7 separate regions of the Homo sapiens genome follow, and all the other regions are linked to region 1. The links are contacts of gene promoters, found by promoter capture Hi-C in blood cells and fetal thymus (Javierre and others, 2016). All regions are on one chromosome and are shown on one strand. The core of a region is centred on a gene start or on the middle of the fragment in contact, and the rest is flanking DNA. Distances in the headings are between cores, read along the strand shown.

The links. Contacts are between HindIII fragments. The CHiCAGO score rates a contact against its expected background, and 5 or more counts as called.
Region 2: a contact is called between a fragment that was not itself captured here and the fragment with the promoter of SLC10A6 in region 1, in 2 of 17 cell types (M0 macrophages and megakaryocytes). The highest score is 5.6, in M0 macrophages.
Region 3: a fragment that was not itself captured here is called in contact with the fragment with the promoter of SLC10A6 in region 1 in 3 of 17 cell types (M0 macrophages, M1 macrophages and M2 macrophages); the score reaches 6.4 in M0 macrophages.
Region 4: a fragment that was not itself captured here is called in contact with the fragment with the promoter of SLC10A6 in region 1 in 12 of 17 cell types (megakaryocytes, M2 macrophages, M1 macrophages and 9 more); the score reaches 12.2 in megakaryocytes.
Region 5: a contact is called between a fragment that was not itself captured here and the fragment with the promoter of SLC10A6 in region 1, in 6 of 17 cell types (megakaryocytes, M0 macrophages, M1 macrophages and 3 more). The highest score is 10.3, in megakaryocytes.
Region 6: a contact is called between a fragment that was not itself captured here and the fragment with the promoter of SLC10A6 in region 1, in 1 of 17 cell types (megakaryocytes). The highest score is 6.5, in megakaryocytes.
Region 7: a fragment that was not itself captured here is called in contact with the fragment with the promoter of SLC10A6 in region 1 in 1 of 17 cell types (megakaryocytes); the score reaches 6.9 in megakaryocytes.

The regions. Positions count from the first base shown.
Region 1 is chr4:86,847,292-86,851,164 of GRCh38, forward strand. It overlaps SLC10A6 (solute carrier family 10 member 6), which reads right to left and starts at 2,093. Exons shown (of 6, transcript NM_197965.3): 1 at 1,448-2,093. The coding sequence starts at 1,824. The HindIII fragment of the contact is 4,581 bases long and covers 1,164-3,873 here.
Region 2 is chr4:86,466,086-86,469,958 of GRCh38, forward strand. It overlaps a transcript of MAPK10 not described here. Among named protein-coding and RNA genes, the nearest start is that of MIR4452, 75 kb to the right of the region's middle. The HindIII fragment of the contact is 2,395 bases long and covers 818-3,212 here.
Region 3 is chr4:86,485,202-86,489,074 of GRCh38, forward strand. It overlaps a transcript of MAPK10 not described here. Among named protein-coding and RNA genes, the nearest start is that of MIR4452, 55 kb to the right of the region's middle. The HindIII fragment of the contact is 5,937 bases long and covers 1-3,873 here.
Region 4 is chr4:86,502,747-86,506,619 of GRCh38, forward strand. It overlaps a transcript of MAPK10 not described here. Among named protein-coding and RNA genes, the nearest start is that of MIR4452, 38 kb to the right of the region's middle. The HindIII fragment of the contact is 5,090 bases long and covers 1-3,873 here.
Region 5 is chr4:86,521,909-86,525,781 of GRCh38, forward strand. It overlaps a transcript of MAPK10 not described here. Among named protein-coding and RNA genes, the nearest start is that of MIR4452, 19 kb to the right of the region's middle. The HindIII fragment of the contact is 3,208 bases long and covers 437-3,644 here.
Region 6 is chr4:86,544,937-86,548,809 of GRCh38, forward strand. It overlaps a transcript of MAPK10 not described here. Among named protein-coding and RNA genes, the nearest start is that of MIR4452, 4.3 kb to the left of the region's middle. RefSeq lists an enhancer at 2,430-2,930. The HindIII fragment of the contact is 4,379 bases long and covers 1-3,873 here.
Region 7 is chr4:86,570,763-86,574,635 of GRCh38, forward strand. It overlaps a transcript of MAPK10 not described here. Among named protein-coding and RNA genes, the nearest start is that of PTPN13, 22 kb to the right of the region's middle. The HindIII fragment of the contact is 1,316 bases long and covers 1,121-2,436 here.

The DNA.
Region 1 (3,873 bases), core at 843-3,342:
CCATGCCTATGGGGCACTTAATAAATATTAGTTTCCTTTTTCTTTCCAAAAACTTTTAGGTCCTGGAATTTATCTCTGATTTATGAACTTCATGCAAAGAATATCTATCATTTCCCAGTTAAATAATCAACTTTACTGAATTTGAATTAGCAATGTATATTAATGGCTTTTACCATTAAGGTAAAACACAAAAGCAGTGTATATTAGTGGCTTTGTATATGAGTGGCTTTTACCATTAAGGTAAAACACAAAATTCATCAAGTTATTTTTTTTTCAAATCTCTCATAAGTGGGTAAACAAAAACACTGCCTTGGGAAAGTTAGTTCCTATTCTGCATGGTATGAGCCCATTAAAATTTATAGGTGAAATATGTTCCATACGCTAAACATTCAGCACAAGCGGAAAACTGGAAACACATACCTGCAGCTGACTCTCACTGATGTCAACTCCCAGCTCAGTCATTACCTCTGATTCATTCATTCATGGTAAAGTGAATCTCAACTAAATGACATACACATGAAACAAATACTTAAATTTATAAGCAGTTCTTCCCCAGGGCAGGAAGTGAAACGGCATGTTCACAAGTAAGCAAAGAGTCTCGAGAGACCATTGTTTTTAGCTCTTTTTCCAGTGCTATCCCTCTACTCTTTCCTCAAATGCTCTTTTTTTCCCCCATCAAAACATGTAATCCAGAAAAGCATGTGACTAATTCATCCTCATTAAAGTGTAAATAAGGGACAAGGCTTAATGTCTCCCAGAGGTATTTATCTACACCATAATTGGGAATAAGGTCACTGGCTTAAAGGGAAGGAATGCGAATCTAGTGATGATGTTAACGATCTGCAAAGCAACAAGAAAGAACAATTTTAGTCCTGAGAGCCTTCGCATTGCTCCTGAAGTCAAATCGACAAGCCATCTCAGCACTTAAAGCTGGATATGGCCACCAGACACCCCTAAAGCTCCTTTATCCAGTCCTCTAAAGTGCTTCTTTCCTAAAGTAGGTGCTCAGGCATCACTGACTGGAGCTACGGGAGTCTCATTCTGACTATGCCACTGACACAACCACGACGGCTGCTACCAAACCACAATCGTTAGCTTCTTGGGATTCTTGGTTTAAGTCCTAGGAGTTGCTAAAGAGGCCAGTGTAGGTAAGAATGAGCTCAAGCTTAGGAAGGGCCACTGGGTGAGGTGCAGACCTGCCTCCACTGCTCAGAACGCATCCCACTGCTCAGAACAGTAGCCAATAAAGAAAATGATCATCAGCAAAGTAACTTTTGAGCACTGAAAGGAAAGCCCACCCATGGCTGAACAAGTCTCTGTGATATTTGTAACATTTCCCACTAGAATCTCTACCAAAAGATTAGAAGAGTGTTTAACACAAGAGTTTCAGTTATTCCCCCTAGGCAGGATAAGAGACAGACTGCTGAGCTTCCCTGGGGTTACTTACCTGAGATCCATATCTCCATCAACCCAGAAGGTGAAAATGTTAGAGATGGTGCCCCCCGGGCAGCAGCCCATGATGAGAACAGCAATAGCTTGGACTGGCTTCAGAGAAAAGCTAATGGCCAGGAGATAAGCTGTAAAAGGCATGAGCCCAAACTGGCAGAGCAGTCCCACAGCAATGCCCCAGGGTCTCCTGATGTGCGACCACAGCTTCCGGATCTCCACGGAACATCCCAAAGAGAACATGAGCAGCCCCATCATCACAGTGGACACCACTGTGAAAACGAGCTCCAGGTTTCCATGCACCTCCAGTCCCACTGGCAGCTCCTCCTCTGAACTGTTGGCAGGGCAGGCTGAGCTGCTGGAACAATTGGCTCTCATCTCCTCATCTCCTTAAGGCAGCATTACAAATGAACATCGGCAACAATGGCTGGGCAGGTCTATCCTGCCACATTTTGTAATAGTGCAACGAAGTCACACATGGAGAATCATTCCAATAACTGTTGGCCAGCAAGGTGATTCATCCTAATCTGATCAATTTTTTCACAAGTGGCATTATAAAAGTAATTATCACAGGCATGAAACATATAATAAACTGTGGTAAGTAAGGCTTTCCACTTCTGTTCTTACTCACCACTGAATATGTATGTGAGATGAGACAAACAAACTTGTTGTCAAGTGGAGTGACCGGGCTATGTCGTCAGCATCACATTGTGTCCCTGGAAAGTAGGGTGGATGCCAAGAAATAATTTCTCCAAATTCAGTTGGGATTTCAAAGAGCCAGGATGCACAGACAGAAAAGCTAACTCCGGAAAAAACAACAAAGCCAAAGCCACACCTTGTAGCATTAGCAAAGCGTGTCTGCTGGAAATAGAGCAAAAAGAAAAAAAACGCCGGTGGAGGAAATGTCAGGAGGGACTAAGAATAATTTCAAGGAGCTTCAGAATTTGTCTCAGTTTTTCTTCTAGTTCTATTAGAATTTGTGTCTAAAGTCAATAATTAAACACCTGTGAGAATAATATGGTATTAGGCACCTAATTATGTCTCATGAAACATGTGAAAACTAATTCCTTCACCCAAAATAATTCAAGGGAGCTCTCACTTGCTTTTGGAGATAAGAGTCTACTTTGAGATACATACCCCTGGCCTCCTAGGGACATCTGGGAATCCTGCAAGGGGATGTGGTAAAGAGCTTGGTCTGAAATGGAGATGGGGTCTGAGGACAGCCTCTGACCACAGTGCCCAGGGCCCCTCTGTGCATTCTAAGCAGGCACTGCTGGCAAAACCCAAGGACTGTATGGTTCTGTGAAACTAAACCTCTGAAAAAGCAGGTGCCACACCCCTTCTCACAGCAGAAAGTTTATTTGTGGGGCACAGGCTAGTAACAAGGCACACTTCATAAACGCCTCTACCTGTCTCAAGAGGGATACTAGCTATGCATTGTTTATTCATGGATGAGCAAATTCTTCTCCATGACAGAATGCTCAGGACATGCTGACTGTATAAAAATACAAGTTAGATTCAAATGTGAAGTAAATTCTAACTATTTGAAGAAAGAATAAACTGCCTTTGGCAAACAAACCCTGAAGGCAGCTCTGGCCATCCAGCCTCCCTGGAGGTTGCGTATAAGGGGTCAGTCAGCACAGGGCGTATTTACGCAGAGCCCTGCAGAGAATGGACACTGAGGAACGGGAAAGGTCTCTGGAAGGCAAGGTGTTCCCAGCTTGAATGATGCAGAGGTGTGGTCAGGCTGAGGAGGAAGGGAGGAGGGAGACAGCTAACATTTTCTGAGCACTTCTCAGGGGTGACAGAGGTGGTGATATGGTTTGGCTGTGTTTCCCCCGCACCCAAATCTCATCTTGAATTATAGCTCTTATAATTCCCATGTGTCATGGGAAGAACCTGGTGGAAGGTCATTGAATCATGGGGGCGGGTTTCTCCCGTGCTGTTCTCATGATAGTGAATAAGTCTCTCAAGTTCTGATGGTTTGATAAAGGGGAGTTCCCCTACACACGCTCTTGCCTTTTCTGCCACCATGTAAAACGTGTCTTGCTTCCCCTTCCCCCTCTGCCATGATTGTGAGGCCTCCCCAGCCATGTGGAACTGTGAGTCAATTAAACCTTTTTCCTTTATAAATTACCCAGTCTTGGGTATGTCTTTATTAGCAGCGTAAAAACAGACCAATACAGGTGGCTAGGTGCTTTACACATATGTGGCTATGTCTGGTGAAGCAGAACTTTATTTACTTATTTAGCAAGAGAAGGGGTCAGGGGTGTCTGCCTAGATAATGTCCAAAAGCCCCTTAGTCAACCTTCTTTTTTTTTTTTTTTTTTTTTTTGAGATGGAGTCTCCTACTGTCGCCCAGGCTGGAGTGCAGTGGAGTGGCGCGATCTCGGCTGACTGCAAGCTCTGCCTCCCGGGTTCATGCCA
Region 2 (3,873 bases), core at 765-3,264, 380 kb before region 1:
CAGTTACACATGCTTTCTGGTCTCAGTATTTACCATAATAAATCTACTCCTATAATTGAGGCATACCGCCCTCAAAAACTTATTTGTAAACAGGATTGGACCCAGTTAGAAATAATGAATGTACTTGTTTGGGAAGATTGAATTGCAGAACAGGCAGAGGTGCTGTGCAACGATTCCTATGGAATCATTATTGATTGGTCCCCTAAGGGGACATTTAGCTTAAATAGCACCTCTCAGTCTGCATGCCACGGCCACACTATGTTCAGCTGGTCTGAACAAAATGGTCAGATGGTAGAAATGGTAGGAAGTACAGCAAGAGTTCCTATTATCTGGAAACATAGCAGTATAGTGACACCTCAACCTCAAATGATATGGCCCGTTGTAGGCCACATGCTATATTTCTGTGTGTGTGTCTTTAATTTCTCTAGTGCCACTGGGTTAGGGTCTCCACAACCGAGCTTGTCTTGGCAGTGTAATTGATTAACTAAAAAAATAATAAAATTAGATCTCTATCTCATACCATACCCAAATATAGATTCCAGATAGGTCAAAAATACAAATGTAAAAATCAAGTCTTTCACAGAACATGTAGGAGAATCTTTTTTATGGCATTTGGTTAGGGAATTATTTCTTAAGCACAGCATGAAAAGCACACAGAACAAAAGAGGGTTTGGGACACCTAGTGTGGTTGATTGTACCCCTGTGAAAATATTTGCTGCCCCTCCCTCCCAGGCTAACCTGCGGGAGATTATATGCCCTCAGCCAAGGTCACTTGCTTCAGCAACAAAATGTGACTATAATGTGATATTGAAACAGAAGCTTTAAAAGCCCTCCTGTGGGTCTGTTGTCTCTCTTTTCTGTCACAAGACCACCATGTCCAAGATATGTGCTGCATCTTCAGCTGCAGTCCCTGGAGTGAAGATGATGTGGAACAGAGCCTGTCAACCCATGTGAATGTGAACAAGAAAATATGTCAGTTGCAGCAAACTCTGAAATTTGGGAGTTTTATGACCCTGGCGTGATTCAGCTTAAGTTGACTGAGATGATGGCTACATTCAAATTGTTAACCAAAAATTATAGAAGGCCACTGTATTGAAGCGGGCCTCACAGTAGGCCCCAACAGACCAAACCAAATCAGAATGGAGTCATTTGTGCCAAGTGTCGCATAATCAAATTGAATTCTTAAATTGTCCAGTTTTCACCAAAAACAAGAGATTCACAGCAACCAGTTAAAAGTGGTTGACTTTGCAGAGAAAGATAAGGAAATAAAATAGGTTGAGGGGTTTCACTGTGTCTACAGTGTATATTTCTTTTAAAAATGTTTTTGAAGCAAAAATGGCCAAAGCAATCTTGACATTTCTTAAATCAGGTGATGTATAGAGACAATGTTGTATTTACCTGAGCCCTGTTATCCTGGAAAACAGCATTTTTGTTTGTTTGTTTGTTTGTTTTTGAGACGGAGTTTCGCTCTGTCACCAGGCTGGAGTGGAGTGGCGCAATCTTGGCTCACTGCAACCTCCGCCTCCCGGGTTCAAGCGATTCTCCTGCCTCAGCCTCCTGAGTAGCTGGGATTACAGGCATGTGCCACCATGCCCAGCTAATTTTTGTATTTTTAATAGAGACAGGGTTTCACCACGTTGGCCAGGATGGTCTCGATCTCTTGACCTCGTGATCCGCGCACCTCGGCCTCCCAAAGTGCGGGAATGGCAGGCGTGAGCCACGGCACCCAGCCTACCATTGTTTAAAGAAGTCCCCAATACCAACCCTTTTGTGTTCCAGAAACTGGCTTACTGAAAAAAACCAAGAGTCCCCATATAAATTAGAGAAGACTCATAGATGTGCCCCTTGCTTACCTTGCAACGAGGCCAGATACAGACATTCTAAATTCCCATTCTTTGCCTCATAAATGATTAGCTGAACTGCTTGCCCCGCCGGTCGGCCAGAACAAAATGCTTGCTAACCAGAAACTTTGCTTTAGCTTCTCTCCTTTTCCCAGGTCCCTGAATTTTGGTCAGCCTACAACTCCTCCTTAAACCCTCCTGAGAATAGGCTGGCTCCAAGGTAAAACATTCTCTAACCTACTATCTGATATTGCTACGCTTTCATCCTGCTTCCCCATACCTGGTTGTTGCTAGCCTTGCTACTTCTCTCTGTAAAAGAAAATCCTTTTTTTGCCTACCTCTTGAGATGCTTGCATATATTATGGTCAAAACATTCTCCCTATTGCAAGAGTCCCCCTCCCCCTATTGCAATAGTCCCTTTGACCACTTCGCAATAATCCTTTCAAATAATGGCTCTCCTTACTAAGTCTGGGTTTTTTATTTGACAATAGGGGTATAGGCATACTTTTATGCATTTTGAATTATTTTATAATATGAACCAGATTTTGAAGAGCTTATTAAATAGAAAAATAGTCATTTCTAAAAGGTGAAACAGAATAGTTTTTTCAAAATGTCCTGATGATATAAGTGTGAAAATAACAAAGCAGTTGGGCATGGTGGCTCACACCTGTAATCCCAGCACTTTGGAAGGCCCAGGCGGGTGGATCACTTGAGGTCAGGAGTTTGGGATCAGCCTGGTCAACATGGTGATACCCCATCTCTACTAAAAATACAAAAATTAGCCAGGCGTGGTGGCATGCACCTGTAGTCCCAGCTCCTCTGGAGGCTGAGGCAGGAGAATTGCTTGAACCCAGGAGGCAGAGGTTGCAGTGAGCCAAGATCATGCCACTGCACTCCAGCCTGGGTGACAGAGTGAGACTCCATCTCAAAAAAAAAGAAAAGAAAAAGAAGGAAAATAACAAAGCAACAGAACTCAACTCATAGCAACTGTGTAGTAGAGGTAGGATTAGAATTCCCAATTGACCAGGCTGGTCAGGGGATTCATAAGAAATACAAATGAAGAAAGTGGGAATGTTAAATCTGGGAAAGCAAAGACTCAGAGGGGCAGAGAAGCTGCCTTCAGATATATGAAGGCTTGTTATGTGGCTTGTTATGAAGGCTTGTTATGTGGGAAATGGCATAGAAGGTTTCCACATGTTGCCATTAGAATTGTGATCAATTCTAGCTACTTGGGAAGCTGAGGTGGTTGTCCCCTTGAGCCTTGAGCCCTATGATCGCACCACTGCACTCCAGCCTGGGTGACAAAGCAAGTTTTTTGTCTCAAAAAAACAAAACAAAACAGAACAAAAAGAATTGTGATCAATAAATGGAAGCTTCAGAAGGCTTCAGCAGAATCTAATGAAGAATATCTAAGTTGTCCAAAGGTGGAATGGGCTACCTTGCAAGTCTGGAGTTCCTCCCCAGTACCAGTGCCCAGACATTATCTGTATGCACACTAAGAACAAGAGTATTGGGCAGGTTGTTGGACCAGGAAACCAGACAGCTCCTGGATTCTATGGTTCTGTCTAGTAGATAATGCAGAAAACACTTGAATGAACTTTAAGAACCAGGCAATCACTCACTGCCAAGATTTTCCAATTGCCAATACTTTCCAATTTCATCAAGCATAAGTAGCAGAAAGAGGATAGTAAATACCTCCTACTATGGTTATTTATATATGCAAACAAATACATGTATGCTTTAATAATTTTTTAAAGGGGGCAAAAGCTGAAACCATCATTAAGAGAAAGAAGCCATTCTTTCACCAGGATGTGCCCAAAGAAACAAAAAGAATTGTAATTCCCAAATACCAGATATAGCTTATTCTTCTGTCTTTGATGGGGCTGCATCCATTTGAGAGATTTTTTTAAGACTAAGAGGTAAAGACAATTGTAAAATATGTAAATTCACCAAAGAAGTATTTGATGACTGAGAATTGCATAGGGCAATGAGGCTTTTTCTAAAAGCCATAGCAGAAAACTCTGGATATATC
Region 3 (3,873 bases), core at 903-3,402, 360 kb before region 1:
ATGAAGATCATCTTACTGGAGATGCCTTCCCCAACCACACTAAATTGATCAGTTCCCTCCTCTTACACTTTCTTATATGTATATTCTTGGGAGCACAATTGTAGTGTAATTTTTACATGTTTAAAATTTTTTAAATATAATATTTGACTTTTTGATTAATGTCAGACTCCCTCAGTTGACTCTAAGCCCTAGGAACATATCCTTTTTCAGTTTTCCTCCTCACCACTGTATCTCCTATGTCTAGCAAAGTGCATTATCCTTAATAGGTGTTTAATAAATAATATTTGGATAAGTAAATTAATGAATGATCAGATGAATTGTGAAAGAATGAATATGCAAATAGTTAAACAAGGAAGGAAATAAACCAAAAGGAATCAGGAGTCTTAATGAGTTTCAAAAGAAGTTCCAAGAGCTTCATCAGAGAAAGAATGAGAAAGCTGGAAAGACAGTAGATGGTATAGACTGAACTGTGCCATTGCAAAATTCATTTGTTGAACCCCTCAACTCCATTGACTGTATTTGGAGATAAGGTCTGTAAAGAGATAATTACAGTTACACAGGCCTCAAGGGAAGGGCCTTAATTCAATAGGACTATTGTCCTTATAAGCTGAGAAAAAGACAACAGAGTTCACGCATAGAGAAAAGGCCATGTGAGGACATAGTGAAAGGCAGCCATTTGCAAGCCAGGAAAAGAGGCCTAACCAGAAACCAACCCTCCTGGCACCTTTATTGTGAACTTCCAGCCGCCTGAGAAGTGAAAAATAAAATTCTGCTATTTAAGCCCTCCAGTCTGTGGTATTCTGTCATGGCAGCCCAGGCCAACTAATATGGTAGGCCATAAATTTTAGATTTGGGGAGATGATGTAGGAGAGGGGAAAACCCTAAAACTGAATAGACACAGTCACAAATTAACTGTATTTTATTAAATAATCACATGGAAAGTTGGGTGTGGTGGTGCCCACCTGTAGTCCCAGCTACTCGGGAGGCTGAGGCAGGAGGATCACTTGAAGCAAGAAGTTTGGATTGTACTGGGCCATTATCACACTTGTGAATAGCCACTGCACTCCAGCCAGGGCAACACAGCAAGACTCAATCTCTAAAACATACATACATACATACACACATGCATAACCACACTGGGGAGTAGAGAAGGATAACTACCATACAGAAGAAAAAGAAAAAGAGAAGCAATGCAAGTAACTTTTGATCACATGATTTTGACAATATACCCACAATCTAGGGAACAAAAGAACTGCAAACAAATCTTGAATTTTTTCTAGTAAGTTTATTTTTCATTGAGATATGGGTATAGCAATTGTGAAACTACTTTATGGGTATCATAATATTGAGAAAATGAATAATGTGATTATGTTCTTGGGTGCCAGGTTCTAAATGACTGTGGAAAAAGAAAGATAAAAATATGGCATGAGGTTAGGCAAAGAAAACTCTGCAACTATCATAATAAAGATTGATTCAGAAAAGAATTATCTTTGGATGCAAAGTCCAGGGGGAAAAGTTAGATGAGGAACAGGATATGTACGCAGTCCCAAAGTGTCTCCCCACAGATTGTTTAGTGGTTGAAAGAGGGAAATAGTAACTATATGGTGGAGAAACCAAACAACATCTTGATGAGGTGATTGAATTAACATCACCAGTGAGGGGCAGACAGACACTATGTGCCTGAAACACAGTACTCTGAGAAGGACAAATCACTGATGTCTTATGCAGCAAGAAAGGCACGATCTGAGCCTAATCATCAAGAAACATCAGACAAACCCAAAGTGATGAACATTCTGTCACATAGCCGTCTTATATTTGAAAATATCAGTGTCATGAAAGATACGGAAAAGCTAAGGAAATCTTCCAGATTTGGGTACTGAAGACATGAGACAGTCGATTGCAATGCAGGATCCTATGCTGGATTCTGTACTGGAAGGGGAAAATGCCATAACAGACATGATTAGGGCAATTTGCAAATTAGATTATGGAGTATGGAGTGGAAAAAGTATTGTTTCAATGTTAAATTTTATAAATTTGACAACTGTATTATGGTAATGTAAGAGGATACCTTTTTTTCTTAGGAAATACACAATAAAGGACTAAGAGGTAAGAGGGAATGATTGCAAGCTATCTAAAATAGTTCATAAAAGAGAGAGAGAGAGTGTGTGTGTGTGTGTGTGTGTAGAGAGAGAAAGAAGGAGTATAATAAAGCAAAGGTAACAAAGTGTCAAAAATTGTTAAATCTGGGCCGGGTGCGGTGGCTCACACCTGTAATCCCAGCACTTTGGGAGGCCGAGGTGAGTGGATCACGAAGTCAGGAGATCAAGACCATCCTGGCTAACACAGTGAAACCCCGTCTCTACTAAAAATACAAAAAAAATTAGCCAGGCATGGTGGCAGGTGCCTGTAGTCCCAGCTACTTGGGAGGCTGAGGCAGGAGAATGGTGTGAACCTGGGAGGCAGAGCTTGCAGTGAGCTGAGATAGTGCCACTGCACTCCAGCCTGGGCAACAGCACGAGACTCTGTCTCAAAAAAAAAAAAAAAAAAATTGTTAAATCTGAATAAAGAGTAAATGGGACTCCCTATCTTTCAACCTTTCTATAAGTTTAAAATTATTTCAAAATACAACTTAAAATAAAATCAAAAGAACAAATAAAAAAGATAAGAGGTGAAGGAGTTCTGAGTGGTGTAAAGTTTTAGGCCTTGATGTTAAGGTAGATTGCACAATAGTCTGAGAGAGAGAGATTATTGTCCTCATTTTACTGAGGAGAAATTGGGACTCAGAGGCCTCAAGGTCTGATGCTACCTAGAGGACAGCAGAGGAGAAGAGAGGAGAGGAGGCCCAGATGGGGAGAGAATGAGGCAAGTTTTTCCCTCAGCTCCACTTGCCGTCTTAATTCAATCCCTTGACAGATTAGCTCACTGAAGGAAAAGCAGCTCCCTCACACCATTCCCCCACCTCCTCCCATATCTGAAATGATGCTCTGCTCAGATCATTAATCATCTCATTAAGGCTCTAGCAAGCACAATTCAGTAATATTGGCCACAGACATTATCCTTTTATTCTCTCGACACAGCTGATGAAAAAGAACCTATTGTAAGATGTCCCCGGTTTTTCACAACAGTAAGGGAAATGATACCTTTTCATCAATGTATAGTTCCAGCTTCAATAAGCATTGTTCCTGGTTTCCTCAAGCCCCTTGTGCAAAGTTTTATGAGTTGGATAATATCCCCTTACCCAATTTTCCCATCCAGATATTGGGAGGGTAATATCAGAACTAGATTACTGGATTGAGTTGAAATAATATTTAAGGCTGTCTTGGGCAACATTTTAAAATTTTCTTATGATATGTATCCTCTAATCACCCACACTCCTTTCTTCTATTAGTTTTTCCCTTTCCCAGTGATTTTTGATGCTAACTGTGGTTTCTGAATCTGCCTGTAGATACCTCCAGAGTTCTTTGCACTACACAATGGCACAGAGACCATGTTAGGACAGTCCCAGAAAGGCTCCGAAGTAGACAAAGATGATCGGTACTGCCCACCCTTCCCCATTTCTGCACCTCTCTCTTCCATCATCTTCAAACTGCAGTCCTCACCTCAGCCTAGAATCCTAGAGTAAGTGGTAAAAATAACCTCAGATTCTTTCCTTCCCTGTGGCAGTGTAGCTCCTCCCATCAAGAGATACCTTTTGAATCTGGGTTTGGCCACAGGACCGGCCAAATGTGACATTAGCAAAGATGCAGCAGAGGCTTGAAAAGTGTTTGCGCATTCGGGCTTGTTCTCTTGCTGCACCTGGAAACTTGAAACCAGCACTTTTCAGTCCAGTGTTAATGTGGAGGCCACTGGAGGAGAACCAAGATACTCTAGCCA
Region 4 (3,873 bases), core at 903-3,402, 340 kb before region 1:
TAGTTTGATAGAAAATGACTCCCACATTTCAGTCAACGTTTATCTCTCTTCTTTATTCTGGACTTACATTTTCATTCTAAAAGACATTTTTGCCAAAATTTACCACCAACACCTCAAACTCAGCACATAAACAAAAATAACAGACTTTTTTGTGAGGCTTATTCTGTGTGGATCATCAATATAGACTACAGAGTCAAGTAACAAAGATTTATTCTAGGAAGAAGGGTGGGATCCTTCAGTTCAGAAGATTACAGTTTCCAATGCCTCTGGAATCTCAAAAGAGGGACTGCTGAAAGAGGATGGAAGAATAATAATTTAAAGGTGAGTTATGAGGTCAACCTAGATGTCTAGCATTTCAAAGCCATGTCATCCAAAGTTAAGGGTATCATCTTTCCCAAACAAACTCATTCTGTTCCTGATGTTCTGAATTCTGTTAATGCAACCACAATTTTTCTCATCATGCAATTTCAAAATTTTAACTTAGACTCTTTTGTCTCTGGCTCTATATTCCTTCAGTTGCCTAGTTCTTCCAGTTCAGACTCTGAAATGTCAGTTCCATTCTCACCTTTGCTACTTTACTTCCAGCTCCCATACTTTTCCAATTAGATTGTTGAAATGGGTACCTAAAATATCTCTCTATCCTCAGACTTTTTCATCTAATCGAATTCTTCCCATCTGTGGGTACCAACTGATAAATTTTCATAAAGTACCACACTGATGGTATCACTTTCCTATAAAACTTTCAAAGGCTCATTATTACCTAACAAATTGAGTGCACACTCCTTAGTAACCTCTCCATTGCAATTCCAAGGGTCAGTTCTCCATCCTCATCTTATTCAACCAATAAGAAGCATTTGAGAATTAATCTGTAGCCTGGATTTCTACAGTTGGTCCCTTGCTTCAACGCTTACCTAATAATCTATTTCACAAACAGCCATGGTAATTATTTTAAAACATTTCAGATTATGTCACTGTTCTGATTTAAATCCTCCAATGGCTTTTTAAAAAATCTCATTTGGGGTAAAATTCAAAGTGCTTATAATGGCCTGCAAGATCCTATATAATATGGCTGGCTATGCACTACCAGACCCCATCATCTACCACAATTAATTATTCATCTCCCTAATCCTACTCTAGCCACACCAGTCTTTTTGCTCTTACCCAAGGACAGCAAACATGCTCCCACCTCTTGGGCTTTGTACGCATTCCACTCTTCTTCCTGAGACCTACAGGGCCCTCCCTAATTCATTCAAATGTCTATACAAATGTCACCATAGTAGAGAGTTCTCTCTCCAATCTATCAAAGTAACATTCCCCCCAGCCTACCCAGATAATCCCTATTATCTGTAACACTTAACATCATTAGAAATATCATAGTTATTTGTGTAATATTTTTTATTGTCTGTCTCTTCTCACTAAAATATAAGCACCCTGAGGGAGGGTCTTAGTTTCTTTTACAACTATTTTCCCAGAGCCTAAAAGAGCATACTGCACTTAATTCAATAAATATTTCTTGAGTGAATGAATAAATGAGTCTCACAGAATGAACCTCTCTACAGAAATCCTATGCTAGCCCAGTGAAATCCAACCTGTGGGCCAAAGATCTGGGAAGTAGTAAAGTAACGTAAAGGGGTCTGTGAATCCACATCCTTCCGATTATTGTCTGTAAACTAAATTAACTACCATATTATACTATTACTTTAAAATGTATTAATTTATAGTAATCTTACCAACATGTATTTTTCCAAAGGATAGTAGCAGTACAGTTTACTATTATGTAGGAACCTACCAATTTTTTCTTATTAACAAGGGGTGTTCTTACTCAAAAACATTAGGAAGCTCACTGCTCTAGCCAAACGAAACCACTGCCTTTTCATCAAGTTGTCTATAAACATTCACACCTGTTCCTTTGCTAATATGTGTATCTTAACTAGCAAAACTTTTTCCTGCCCTCCACTTTCCACCCCATCCTCCAATTGATTTACTGTTTCAAATTCTAAATCATCATTATCTACACCTGAGTGAGCATATGCCTAAGAGCTGGCAATAAGACACATGATGACTGGCTGGGGTGAGGAATGGAAAGGAAGAGCCAGAAGAGGAAAAGAAGTGCTACAAGATTCATGTGCTAGAACTCTCAAGTCCAATTTCACCTGCCTCCCAGTTTGCCTACAGTCCCTCTTTTGGGGGTATTAAGCACATCCAGCAAAGTCTTTCCACCAGCAAAGCCCATCCACTCTGCATCCTCCATAAATACAACACACTAATTCTAGACCCTGCACTATTTTTTCATACTAGTCAAAGTGCTCTGCTCACTGCTTTCTACCAAATAGCAACCATCACATAATTGTTTTGGTTCAACCTTCACCTGTTTCTGGAACTTTTCCCTGGCTAGCCAACAGCACATTCTTATTATTCCTCTATAGTGCTTCAGCAATTTAATACACATTTTTTCAAACAAATTTTCTACTCTTTGATAATTTATTTTTAAGTTTCCTTTCAGCATCATGCAATATGCCCATATAACCTGCCCATGTACCCCCTGAATCTAAAATAAAAGTTTAAATTATTTTTTAAAAATGGGCCAGGCAAGGTGGCTCACACCTATAATCTCAACATTTTGGGAGGCCAAGGCAGGAGGATTGCTTGAGCCCAGGAGCTCAAGACCAACCTGGGCAACATAGAGAGACCTCATCTCTACTAAAAATTTGTGGTGGCATGCATCTGTAATCCCAGCTTATCAGGAGGCTGAGGTGGTGTTTGAGCCTAGTTCAAGGCTGTAATGAGCTATGATCACACCACCACACTTCAGCCTGGGCAACAGAGTGAGACCCTGTTTTTAAAAAAAAAAGTTTCCTTTTTTCATTTATTCTCTTAAATGTGAACTCCTGCGAAGACATGAGAGCCTCAGATATTTCTTTTCTTTTATAGGTGTCTTTCCATTATACAATAATGCCTAGTACTAGACTAGGAACAGAAGAGATAAAGAAAGATATCCTATGAAGGCACTGAATTAGCCTTTAGCTGGATTCACAAACCTATAGGCCAATTTAAATTGTACTCATTTTCAAATTTCTTTAGGTCATGAACTAGCCTACTTATTGCGTCAATATCTATAAATTACTTCCCCAATTCTGTCCTTTCTAAAGTGTATATGCTCTGTCCTCTAGCAGATGATCTTGTTCCTGAACTTCAATCCAATGAGCTCTCATTGAACTCCTTAATGTAAAACATGAGCTAGGCAATATAGAGACATACTCCTTGCCCTAAAGGAATTCATAATAATTCCTTAAAGAAAACATTTTTAAAGCACCTGGTATGTGTTAGGCACCCAAGAACTATTCTATACAGCACAGAAAATGAGATATTCACACCTATAAACAAAAGACAGCGTATTACATTCCAAAAGAAAGGCAGTCGGTCATATGAAAATCCAGGAAGGGAAAAATTAATTCTGAACATAATACCAAGGAATCTTTTATTGAGGAACTGTCCTCTGAATAGGACCATTAAGGAGAAGAATTTTCATGAGAAAATGAGTGAGGGATATGCTAGAAAGGCAGTTGTTTCTGAATCTAATGGTCAAAAATATGGGTTTTGAAAGTCAGAGGGTCTTGGTTCAAATTGTATTTTTGTCACTTACTTGATGAACATCCCCAAGTAGCTTATTTAACTTCAACTGTGGTTTCTTCATTTACAAAATGGAGATAATGTGATTACACACTGCATAAAAACAGACTCTTAGCTGCTGCCTGGCACAGAGTAAGTGCTGACTAAAAGATAGCACTTAGTTTGTGTTCCCCCAGAAGAAGACCATGACTCAAAGATCCAACTACAAATAGTTTATTTGAAAGGGGGCCACAGGAATCACTG
Region 5 (3,873 bases), core at 791-3,290, 330 kb before region 1:
CCTGTGGTCCCTCCCCAGTTCTGCTGGCTGCCTTCCCTTCCCCAAGGACCTCTGTGAGATTAGGCCAGGAATGGCTTCCCTGGGTTGAGCTGGGGACTGGGAGTGCCTACAGGGCTCTTCACACTGCTTCTTCTACTTTTATATTTCACCTGGGTCCCTAAATCCATTTCAGCTCTAGGTAAGGTTAACTCCTTTTCCCATGATCTAGATTTTCAGGTTCCCCAGTGGGGTGTGTGTTCAGAGTCTGACTTATCCCTCTATCACACTTTGGAAACTCAGTTTTTTGGCTGTCTTGTGGCATTTTTCTCATTATGTGTTTTGATGGCAATTAAAGAGTCACTCCTTGAAAGTAGGTGTCAAGAATGATGGGTTTGTACTTCCCAGAAAGCCCAGACATGTAAAACATAATACTGTTTGCCTATTAGGCTCTAGTATAAGCTTGTTAAATGAATGATGAAACGAGGTTGGAGCTAGAATATGAACTACCTTAATTTTCATGTTCAAGAGTTGGTAGTTTATTTGGCAGGGCAGATAAATTAAATGAGATGATACGTTTAACACAGTTCCTATTGATACATTTTAGCTTTTATGATTAATAGTGCATTTCAATTCTATCCCGCTTCATAACCAGAAGATGGAGCTCCAAACATTTAAACTTAAAAAAAAAAATTCTCCTGTTTTGTTGTATTCTTGGTAGAGGCTGTGCTCTTATTTCGTTGGTTCTGGTTCTTTTTGTTCCCCACCTAAATCCTTCCATTCTAATTTTGTTCTCAGGTTATCAAAATCCATTTGCTGACTACAGATAGGAGGAGTGATCTGTGTGAGAAGCTACACATAGATCCTCTTTTTCTACCTCTGGGGACTTATTTGATTCATGCACCTGTTCATACATATTTTTATCCAACTCTCCCCACTTTGTTCCTCCCTCTTCACATGGAAAAGCCATTGTGACTTACAGTTGTTACAGCAACTGTAAACAGGTGCTGACATTCTATGCATCCTCATGGGAGGAAAAATGCCAGCACTACCACACACAGAATTTGTTGCTATATGCAGGAAAAAGCATGTGACAGGGCTAGAAATACATTTTTTTGGACTGTTCTCCAGTTTGTGTCCTTTTGCAACATAAGTTCCTTAGACATCTAAAGACTCATGGGAAATAATTAATTTCTAATTTTTCATATCATTCATTCTACTACACTTATATTGATATTATTAATACCTTTATTATTATTACCTTTATGTTTATTAATAGGTATATCTCTAGCTATTTATTCAATATTCACTCTTTCATTCACTTTTTTTCAATAAATATTTATTGAGCAGCACAGCAGCATTACAGGAGGGTTATGGATTTGTGGAACACACTGACCCCCATCCCCAATCCCTGCCATACACATATCCTCCTACTATAAGTCTTTAATAGAGCTATCCAAGAATACATCTGGCTACAAATACCTGGCTAAGAGTTCCAGGAGTGCTTTAAGCAGGAGCAACAGCACTGCCTATTCAAATTTATCTCTTGCCCTTTATTCCCCATACCAAAGGCAAAACCATCAGAGATTCTGGTAAGTTTCCACTGTGGTAAAGTTCTGCAAGAGTTAAGGGGAAATTTTCTTGCTTCATCACTTCTCTGTTATACTCGGATTTACATCACCATTGTGAAATTACACTAATATATACACCACTGTTCAAGGGAACATTTATATACATTTGGCTCTTCCGTTTCTTGATCCAAATTCAGCTTCAGGAGATACATGTCTTCACCCTGGATCAACCACCTGGCATTCCAGCAAAATCTACCCCTACTTTCCAGAGTCCTTTAAAGGCAATCATATGTCTGTATTTACCAAATCTCTCAAAGGCTCTAAATCTATATCTCTAAATATCCGATGGTTATTTCATCTGGCAAATTCAAAAATGTTTACATTGAACTCATTTTCTTTCTCTATCTACGCTTGGCTTAGATGTTTGTCCCCTCCAAACCTCATGTTGGAATCTGATCACCAATGTTGGAGGTGGGGCCTAATGGGAGGTGTTTGGGTCATGGGAGTGGATCCTACATGAACAGATTAATATCCTCCTTCAAGGGTGAGTGAGTTCCCATTCCATTAGTTCCCAAGAGAGCTGGTTGTTAAAAAGAGCCTGCCGCTTTTCCCACCCTTTCTCTTGCTTCCTCTTTTGCAATGTGATCGTTGCACGTACAAGCTCCCCTTCACCTTCCACCATGAAGTAGAAGGAGACTGAGGCTCTCATCATGCAGATGCCCAATCTTGAACTTTACAGCCATCAGAATCATAAGAAAAATAAACCTTTTTCTCTATAAATTACCTAGTGTCAGATATTCTGTTATGGTAACACAAAATTGACCAAGATAATCCCTTTACTCTCTAACTCTCCTCCTAGCTTTCTGGATATCATTTTTATGCAATCACCTACTTAGTAATCTAAATTAAAAATCTTGAAGTAATCACTTGATTTCACTTCTACCTTACCTTCCACATCCAGTCAGCAAGTCCTGTACATTCTACCTCCACAGTGTGCCCTCAATTCAGTTCTTGCACATGTATTTGTCAGAAAGTTTCTTCTCCCACAATAATTTCAGTAGTCTCCTAGTTATCTCCATTGTCTTCCTTCTCAAGTCTTCTAAAGAGTCTACATTAACACCATACTAGGGTTGCCAGGTAAGATACAGGGTTTCCCGTATATTTGTTTGTTAAATCTGGCAGCTTTGCACATATTCATCTTCCTAAACATGTTTCTGGTCATGTAACACTGCCATTTACACTCTCTCTCCCCTTTCTATTACTGAATTAGTTTTTTTTAAGTTGTTGTTGTTGTTCTTGCTTCTGCTGCTGTTGTTTTAGTTTCCTATCCATTAGATAATTAACCCTACATTAGCCTATCACTCAACAAATATTTAAATTAGGTTGGTGCAAAAAAAAAAAAAAGCCCGCAATGACTTTTGCACCAACCTAATATCTGGTACCTGCCATATATGAAACACTCAGGTTTGTGTTGTGGAGTATGCAAAAATAATTTATAGTCTCTATTCTTCAGGCGTTAGCAAGCTGAATAATTATCATTGACATAAAGAAACACAAGCAGTCCAGGCATGATGGCTCATGCCTGTAAACCCAGCACTTTGGGAGGCTGACACGGGCAGATCGCTTGAGCTCGAGTTCGAGACCAGCCTGGGCAACATGGCGAAACCCCGTCTCCACCAAAAATACAAAAAATTAGCCAGGAGTGGTGGTGCCCTCCTGTTGTCCCAACTACTTGGGAGGCTGAGGTGGGAGGGTGGCTGGAGCCCTGGAGGCAGAGGCTGCAGTGAGCCAAGATCATGCCACTGACTCCAGCCTGGGTGACAGAGTGAGACCCCATCTCAATTAAAAAATAAAATAAGAAAAAGAAAACGAAACACAAGCAAATACAGAGTGCTAAAATTCAATTTAGACTAGAGGGATGAGAGTGAGGAGGTTCCCAGGTTTGTATTCACGTTACCTAGATTTTAATTTGACCTAAGGCCAGCGAAAACTTTTTTTAACCCCACCCACACCCTAGTCTTAAAAACCAGTCACTGAAACAAGTGAACTTCTCCACCTCTACCCTTGACCTGGAACAAAGTTATTCCTGGCTAACAAAGCTTTTCCCTCACTGTACAAAGTAGAAGACAGCAAGTTGTCTTTATTCAGTTTCATAACGGAGAAAAGTGAGTATAAAGGTTGTACAATATAAACACAGAATCTTAAATCACTAGAGGAGCCAGGAATGGAGCTCAACACTTACGAGTATTCTTTCTGAAGTAAGTTAGTCTCTGAACAAGCACCTAATCTTCAATGAATAAACCAATTTTATGTGAATAAACAAAAT
Region 6 (3,873 bases), core at 729-3,228, 300 kb before region 1:
AGGAGAAGTTTGAAATGGAAGGGAGAAAGAGAGGAAGGGAGGGACGGCAAGAAGGAAAGAAGAGAGGAAGGAAGAAAGCAATGGCATGGCCATGTTTCTGTGTTGTTTTTTCCTACTACAAAATATTAAGATATTGGATAATAAAGGAGCCAAATAGTGTCACATGGCTCACGTGTGTATCAACAAGGCCCATGTGTGTATCAACATAAGGCTAAGAACACATGACAAGGCATGGATGGCCAAGGAGTCAGGATTTTGAAATGAGTGCAAGGACTTGTTTACATGAAAATGTTCAAAGGTAAAATCAATGTATCAGGTTAAAGGGTTGAGTCTGAAGAATGAGCGCATGAAAAAATGTGATACTTTCTCTTTTTTGTCATTGCTTTCTTTCCCCTCATCCGTGGCGGGGAGAGGATCTTTGGTAAGACAGAATAAAGACGGCATTTTAGTGAGGATGGGGGAAGCCTGAGGCAGGTGTGCTCTCTTCTGAGAACTTTCTCAAAAATCCACACCATTTCCATGGTGGTGAAGGCCGTGACGAAAAGACCTCAGAAGAATTACTAAAATAGCTTCTGAGGTTGCTTTCCAATGGCACAATGCAGGAAATGGAAAAGGGGCATGTATTGATAGCATTGTGTGTAAATGAACAATATACATGTGTATTGTATTTTTCATGGTGGGCAAATGGTGGGACATCGGGGAGAGGGGCTGAGAGAAGTCCAGGAAGCAGCATAAAGATCTTAATGGACAGGAAGGAGAAGAGAGGTGTTAATGGAAAGAAGGAATACATTTTAGCACTTCAAATACTGGTGTAGCTTCAACTCTGACCAGGGACATTTTGTCTTAGTGCCTAAATATATCCAAGTGGAATAAGCACGAATCTCACATTTTAAAAAATTAGCCATGCATTACACATACGTATCATTCTTCCTGATATTGTTAAAGCAAACCACTGCAACAACATTGGCTACAGAATTTTGAGGGCTCAGTCCAAAATAAAAATGCAGGGCTCCTTGTTCAAAAATTACTAAGGGCCAGGTGCGGTGGCTCACGCCTGTAATCCCAGCACTTTGGGAGGCCGAGGCGGGCGGACTGCCTGAGCTCAGGAGTTCAAGACCAGCCTGGGCAACAAAAAATTTAGCCGGGTGTGGTGTTGGGTGCCTATAGTCCCAGCTACTTGGGAGGCTGAGGCAGAAGAATCTATTGAACCTGGGAGGCAGAGGCTGCAGTAAGCCGAGATGGCGCCATTGCACTCCAGTCTGGACAACAGAGCGAGACTCTTGTCTCCAAAAATAAAAAATAAAAAATTACTAAGAATTTCAAGATGGCGGCTGGGTGCGGTGGCTCACGCCTGTAATCCCAGCAATTTAGGAGGCTGAGACGGGCAGATCACCTGAGGTTAGGAGTTCGAGACAAGCCTGGCCAACATGGCAAAACCCTGTCTCTACTAAAAATACAAAAAAAAAAAAAATTAGCCGGACATGGTGGCGTGAGCCTGTAATCCCAACTACTCAGGAGGCTGAGGCAGGAGAATTGCTTGAACCTGGGAAGCGGAGGTTGCAGTGAGACGAGATCGCGCTACTGCACTCCAGCCTGGGGGACAAGAGCGAAACTCCTTCTAAAAAAAAAAAAAAAAGAAGAAAGAATTTCAAGGTGGCAAAAATGGCATTAAACCAAGCAAGGGGCCCTTCTGAGTATAGGTCCTATGTGACTGCACAAGTCATATGCCCATGAGGCCAGCCCTACTCCAAAATTAAGACCAGATTTGAATGGGTTCCATGCAGTGCTTGGAGGGGAAAATCCCAGATGTAAACTCTCACTGTAAAAGTTCAAAAGGGGCTGGGCGGGGTGGCTCATGCCTGTTAATCCCAGCACTTTGGGAGGCCGAGGCGGGTGGATCACGAGGTCAGGAGATCTAGACCATCCTGGCTAACACAGTGAAACCCCATCTCTACTAAATATACAAAAAATTAGCTGGGCGTGGTGGCGGGCACCTGTAGTCCCAGTTACTCGGGAGGCTGAGGCAGGAGAACCGTGTGAACCCGGAAGGTGGAGCTTGCAGCCGAGATTGCGCCACTGCACTCCAGCCTGGGCGACAGAGCGAGACTCCGTCTAAAAACAAACAAAAAAAAAGTGCTAAAGGGAAAGGCTGATTATTGGAGTCAGAAGACTAGTTATCCTCTGCTTTTCTATGAGTGATAGTGAGAGGTGACAGCTTGCTGGCAGTTCTCACAGCCCTCGCTTCCTCTCGGCGCCTCCCCTGCCTGGGTTCCCACTTTGGCGGCACCTGAGGAGCCCTTCAGCCCGCCCTGCACTGTGGGATCCCCTTTCTGGGCTGGCCAAGGCCGGAGCCGGCTCCCTCAGCTTGCCAGGAGGTGTGGAGGGAGAGGCGCTGGGGGGAACCAGGACTGCGCGAGTTCCGGGTGGGCGTGGGCTCTGCGGACCCGCACTCCCAGCAGTCGGCCGGCCCCACCGCCCGGGGCAGTGAGGGGTTTAGCACCTGGGCCAGCAACTGCTGTGCTCAAAATTTCTCGCCGGGCCTTAGTTGCCTTCCCGCAGGGCAGGGCTCAGGACCTGCAGCCCGCCATGCCTGAGCCTCCCCCGCGCTCCCTGGGCTCCTGTGCCGCGGAGCCTCCCCTAAGAGCGCCGCCCCCTGCTCCACAGCACCCAGTCCCATTGACCACCCAAGGGCTGAGGAATGCCGGCGGCAGGCAGGGAGCTCCACCTGCAGCCTCCATTCAGGATCCACTGGGTGAAGCCAGCTGGGCTCCTGAGTCTAGTGGGGATGTGGAGAACCTTTATATCTAGCTAAGGGATTGTAAATACACCAATCAGCACTCTGTATCTAGCTCAAGGTTTGTAAACACACCAATCAGCACCCTGTGTCTAGCTCAGGGTTTGTGAATGCACCAATCGACACTCTGTATTTAGCTACTCTGGTGGGGCCTTAGAGAACCTTTATGTCTAGCTCAGGGATTGTAAACGCACCAATCAGCGCCCTGTCAAAACAGACCACTCGGCTCTACCAATCAGCAGGATGTGGGTGGAGCCAGACAAGAGAATAAAAGCAGGCTGCCTGATCCAGCAGTGGCAACCCGCTCAGGTCCCCTTCCACACTGTGGAATCTTGGTTCTTTCACTCTTTGCAATAAATCTTGCTGCTGCTCACTGCTTGGGTCCACACTGCTTTTATGAGCTGTAACACTCACCGCGAAGGTCTGCAGCTTCACTCCTGAAGCCAGCGAGACCACGAACCCACCGGGAGGAACAAACAACTCCAGACGCGCTGCCTTAAGAGCTGTAACACTCACCACAAAGGTCCGCAGTTTCACTCCTGAGCCAGCGAGACCGCGAACCCCACCAGAAGGAAGAAACTCCAAACACATCCGAACATCAGAACGAACAAACTCCGGACATGCCACCTTTAAGAACTGTAACACTCACCACGAGGGTCCACAGCTTCATTCCTGAAGTCAGTGAGACCAAGAACCCACCAATTCCGGACACAATAGTAGATAACTGCTATGGTTTGGATCTCTGTCCCCACTAAATTTCATGTTGAATTATAATCTCCAGGGCTGGAGGTGGGGTCTGGTGGGAGGTGACTGGATCATTGGGTTGGTTTCTAATGGTTTATCACCATCCTCCTAGTGATAGGTTCCCCTTTGCCTTCCACCATGATTGAAAGTTAGTAAAGGCCATCATGCTTCCTGTATAGCCCATGGAACCATGAGCCAATTAAACCTCTTTTCTTTATATACTTTGGCTCAGGTGTTTCTTCATAGCAGTGTGAGAACAGACTAATGCAGGTACTCTCAGTGCCACTCTGACCCTGGTGATTTTGAGATTCCACTAGACCACAACTTGCACACTA
Region 7 (3,873 bases), core at 529-3,028, 280 kb before region 1:
ACTTCCTGGAGTAGGTGACATTTAGTCTGAAAAACTAAATAGGAGTTAACGAAACAAGGGGGATGGGCAGAGGAGTCACCAAGAGGTTGGAGGAGGGTCTTTAGTCGCCCATGGCCAGTTTGAGTCTTGAGATAAGCAGATGCCAGGGTGGAATTGAATCTGATTAGTTTCAGTTGTTAATAACTCCTAACTTTATATCTCTACCACAGACTCAGTTCCAGTTATAACCAGCTACCAGACAGCGTTTTTAACCAGCTAAGGGAGGTGGGGTGTGCAGAATTCCCTGCTGAGAAGATGCCATAATCTCTACTCTTCCTATAGACATGGATCCTTCTTTCAGGTTCTATTATCTCTGTGGGCCTGTCCTGTTTATTTTTTAAAGTTGTATTGTTTTATATAAAAGATACTTAATAAAATACTTAGGGTTTTTTTTTTAGTGATTGGAATCTGTAAAAAATAAAATTAATTTAAAAAAATCTTTGCAATGATATCCAAAATTTAAATATATATATATATATTACTGGATAGATACATGTATATATATATTTACTGGATATATATATACGTGTGTGTGTGTGTGTGTGTGTGTGTGTGTATCTCCAGTAAAAGATAGTGAATAGAACACCTATATGAGCTTATCAATTCTCCTTTCCAAACATCACAAAAATGATGGCAGGAAATAAACTTTTAAAAATTTAGAACCTTAAATAAAAGGAAAACTAGAGATAAAATAACAACAGTGAGAACTGTCAAAAATAGGTTAAAAACCGGAAAGCATATGATCAAGTAACAATTGACTTCTTAGCTGAACAGAGGAAGTTAAAAGTTAAGTACCTGTAGCTGGGAAAGTCAAGAAGCAAACTAATTCATTCCTGAAAAGGAATGAATGGAGCTTTCCTTCCTAGAGAAATCAAGGAGAGAAAAGACCTCATACTAAAAACTGGTGGGCTGCCAAAGATACGGTTGGCTATCTCCTGACAACCTTACACTGAAGCCCAATAATTGAATTTACTTGTCTATGGTAAATGTATGTGTAATTTATTTGGGGTCAGCTACATTATGTAACGAGCCCCTTGTTCAAAAAGCAGAAAAAAGGTGTCATTAAAAATATAAAATATAAAGCTTTTTCCTTTCTTCCTTGGTCTTTTTTTCAGTTTGTCATGGTTTTTTATTTTTTATTTGCTAGTTAAAATTTTTTCTAAGGAAGGAAAAATTTTAAATTATTAGGCTGAATTTTGTCATTCGTCTTTATATTGCATAATGCTAGCTTTAAATGTATATATGTACATTTAACTCCTATGTAGGATCACCAAAATCACACAATTCTTATTTTGTAGTTCATACATGCACATATATTTTGTTCTTACCAGAACAGTGGAAACACTACACAAAATTTACTCAATTTTTTATTTCAAGTCTACCAACACATTCTACCAACACTCTCTACCTTTGACTTATGGCATCATTACTTTCAGCAAAACCAGCTGTGTAATACTAGGAAACAATGGGAATAAGAAAGGATATCATAGGATTCCTTGCTCATTTGTGTTTCTTAGAATGCCATTGTCTTCTTTTTGCATTAGAAACAACTCTAGTTCAAATAAAAAACATAGCCTCAAGAGGTTATCAGTATTTATGTTTACTCAGACTTAGCTGTAACATGTTTACCTTGTGCTAGCTGTGAGTCTCATTAAACTTGTAGGCACCACTGGGTCCCTTGGAATTCTGTGTTCATGGGGTATCTCCAACACTATATGCAAACAGGGCAGAAAGTACTGGCAGACGAATTTCATAGTCCAGTGTTCCAACAGGCCTTACTTATAAAATACAGGTTTCGAGACAAAATTATTAGAATTTCAAGATACTAACAGTGGAATATTAAGCCGAATATGGGACTCTTTTGAGCATGAGGCCCTGTTCAATTGCACAGGTCTCATGCTCATGAACCTGGGTCTGAGTTTATAAGAAAATGCCAAATGGCTGTGCCATATTGCATTCCCACCAGCAACATTTGAAAGTTCCCGCTGATTTGCATCTTTACCAGTAATTGGCAGTGTCAAACTTTTAAAATATAGCCATTCTAGTAGGTATATAATGATATTCATCTTAATTTGCATTTTCCTAATTAATAATTTCGGTGAATATCATGTGTTTATTTGCTATCTGGATATCTTCTTTAGTAAAATATTTGTTTAAATCTTTTGCCCAATTAAAAAAATGAATTGTTTTCTTTAGTTTTGAAAGTTCTTCATATATTCTGGATATAACTTCTTAATCAGATATATCCTTCACAAATATTTTGTCCCAATCTGTGGCTTGTTTTATTTATTTTTTCACTTTTGCAGGAATCTTTTGAAGAGCACAAGGTCTTAATTTTTATAAACTCTAATTTTCCAATTTTTTAATAGTTGATGCTTTTTATGTCTTACCTAAGAAAGCTTTACTATCAAAGGTCACAAAGAATTTCCCCTAGCAATTTATATCGCTTTAGGTTTCACATTTTGATCTATGTACAATTTCAAGTTAATTTCTTTATATGGTGGAGATAGGTTTTAGCTTCAGTTTTCTGCATATGGATGTTCCAGCACCTTTTACTAACAATGTTTTACCTCATGAAATTACTCTCTCATCTTTGTTGGGATCATTTAATTGAATATATGTGGGCATCTTTCTGTACTATCTTTATCTATATAGCTATCCTTACTCCCAATACTACACTGTCTTGAATACTGCAGCTGAATAAGTACTGAAATCAGACAGTGGGAGGCCTTTCTTGTTTTTCTGTTTTAAAATCATTTTGCTTATACGAGGTCCTTTGCATTTCCAAACAAAGTTTAGAATATGCCTATCAATTTCTACTCAAAAAGCTGCTTATATCTTGATTGAAATTGCACAGATTCTATAGATAAATGTGAGATAAATTTACCCATTAAAAAGTCTTTGAATCCATAAACGTGATATGTCTCTCCACTTATTAAGTTTTCTCTCATTTCATTCACCAATGTTTTATAGTTTTCAATATAGAAATTTTCCACATTTTCTTAGATTTATCCCTTATTATTCATCCTTTTTGATGCTATTGTTATATTTTTTAAATGTCAATTTCTAATTGTTTAATTACAAGTATATAGAGAAATGCAATTTTTTAAATTATCATTATACTTTAAGTTTTAGGGTACATGTGCACAATGTGCAGGTTAGTTACATATGTATACAGGTGCCATGCTGCTGTGCTGCACCCATTAACTCGTCATTTAGCAGTAGGTATATCTCCTAATGCTATCCTTCCACCCTCCCTCCACCCCACAACAGTCCCCAGAGTGTGATGTTCCCCTTCCTGTGTCCATGTGTTCTCATTGTTCAATTCCCACCTATGAGTGAGAACATGCGGTGTTTGGTTTTTTGTCCTTGCGACAGTTTACTGAGAATGATGATTTCCAATTTCATCCATGTCCCTACAAAGGACATGAACTCATCATTTTTTATGGCTGCATAGTATTCCATGGTGTATATGTGCCACATTTTCTTAATCCAGTCTATCATTGTTGGACATTTGGGTTGGTTCCAAGTCTTTGCTATTGTGAATAGTGCCGCAATAAACATACGTGTGCATGTGTCTTTATAGCAGCATGATTTATAGTCCTTTGGGCATATACCCAGTAATGGGATGGCTGGGTCAAATGGTATTTCTAGTTCTAGATCCCTGAGGAGTCGCCACACTGACTTCCACAATGGCTGAACTAGTTTACAGTCCCACCAACGGTGTAAAAGTGTTCCTATTTCTCCACATCCTCTCCAGCACCTGTTGTTTCCTGACTTTTTAATGATTGCCATTCTAACTGGTGTGAGATGGTATCTCATTGTGGTTTTGAT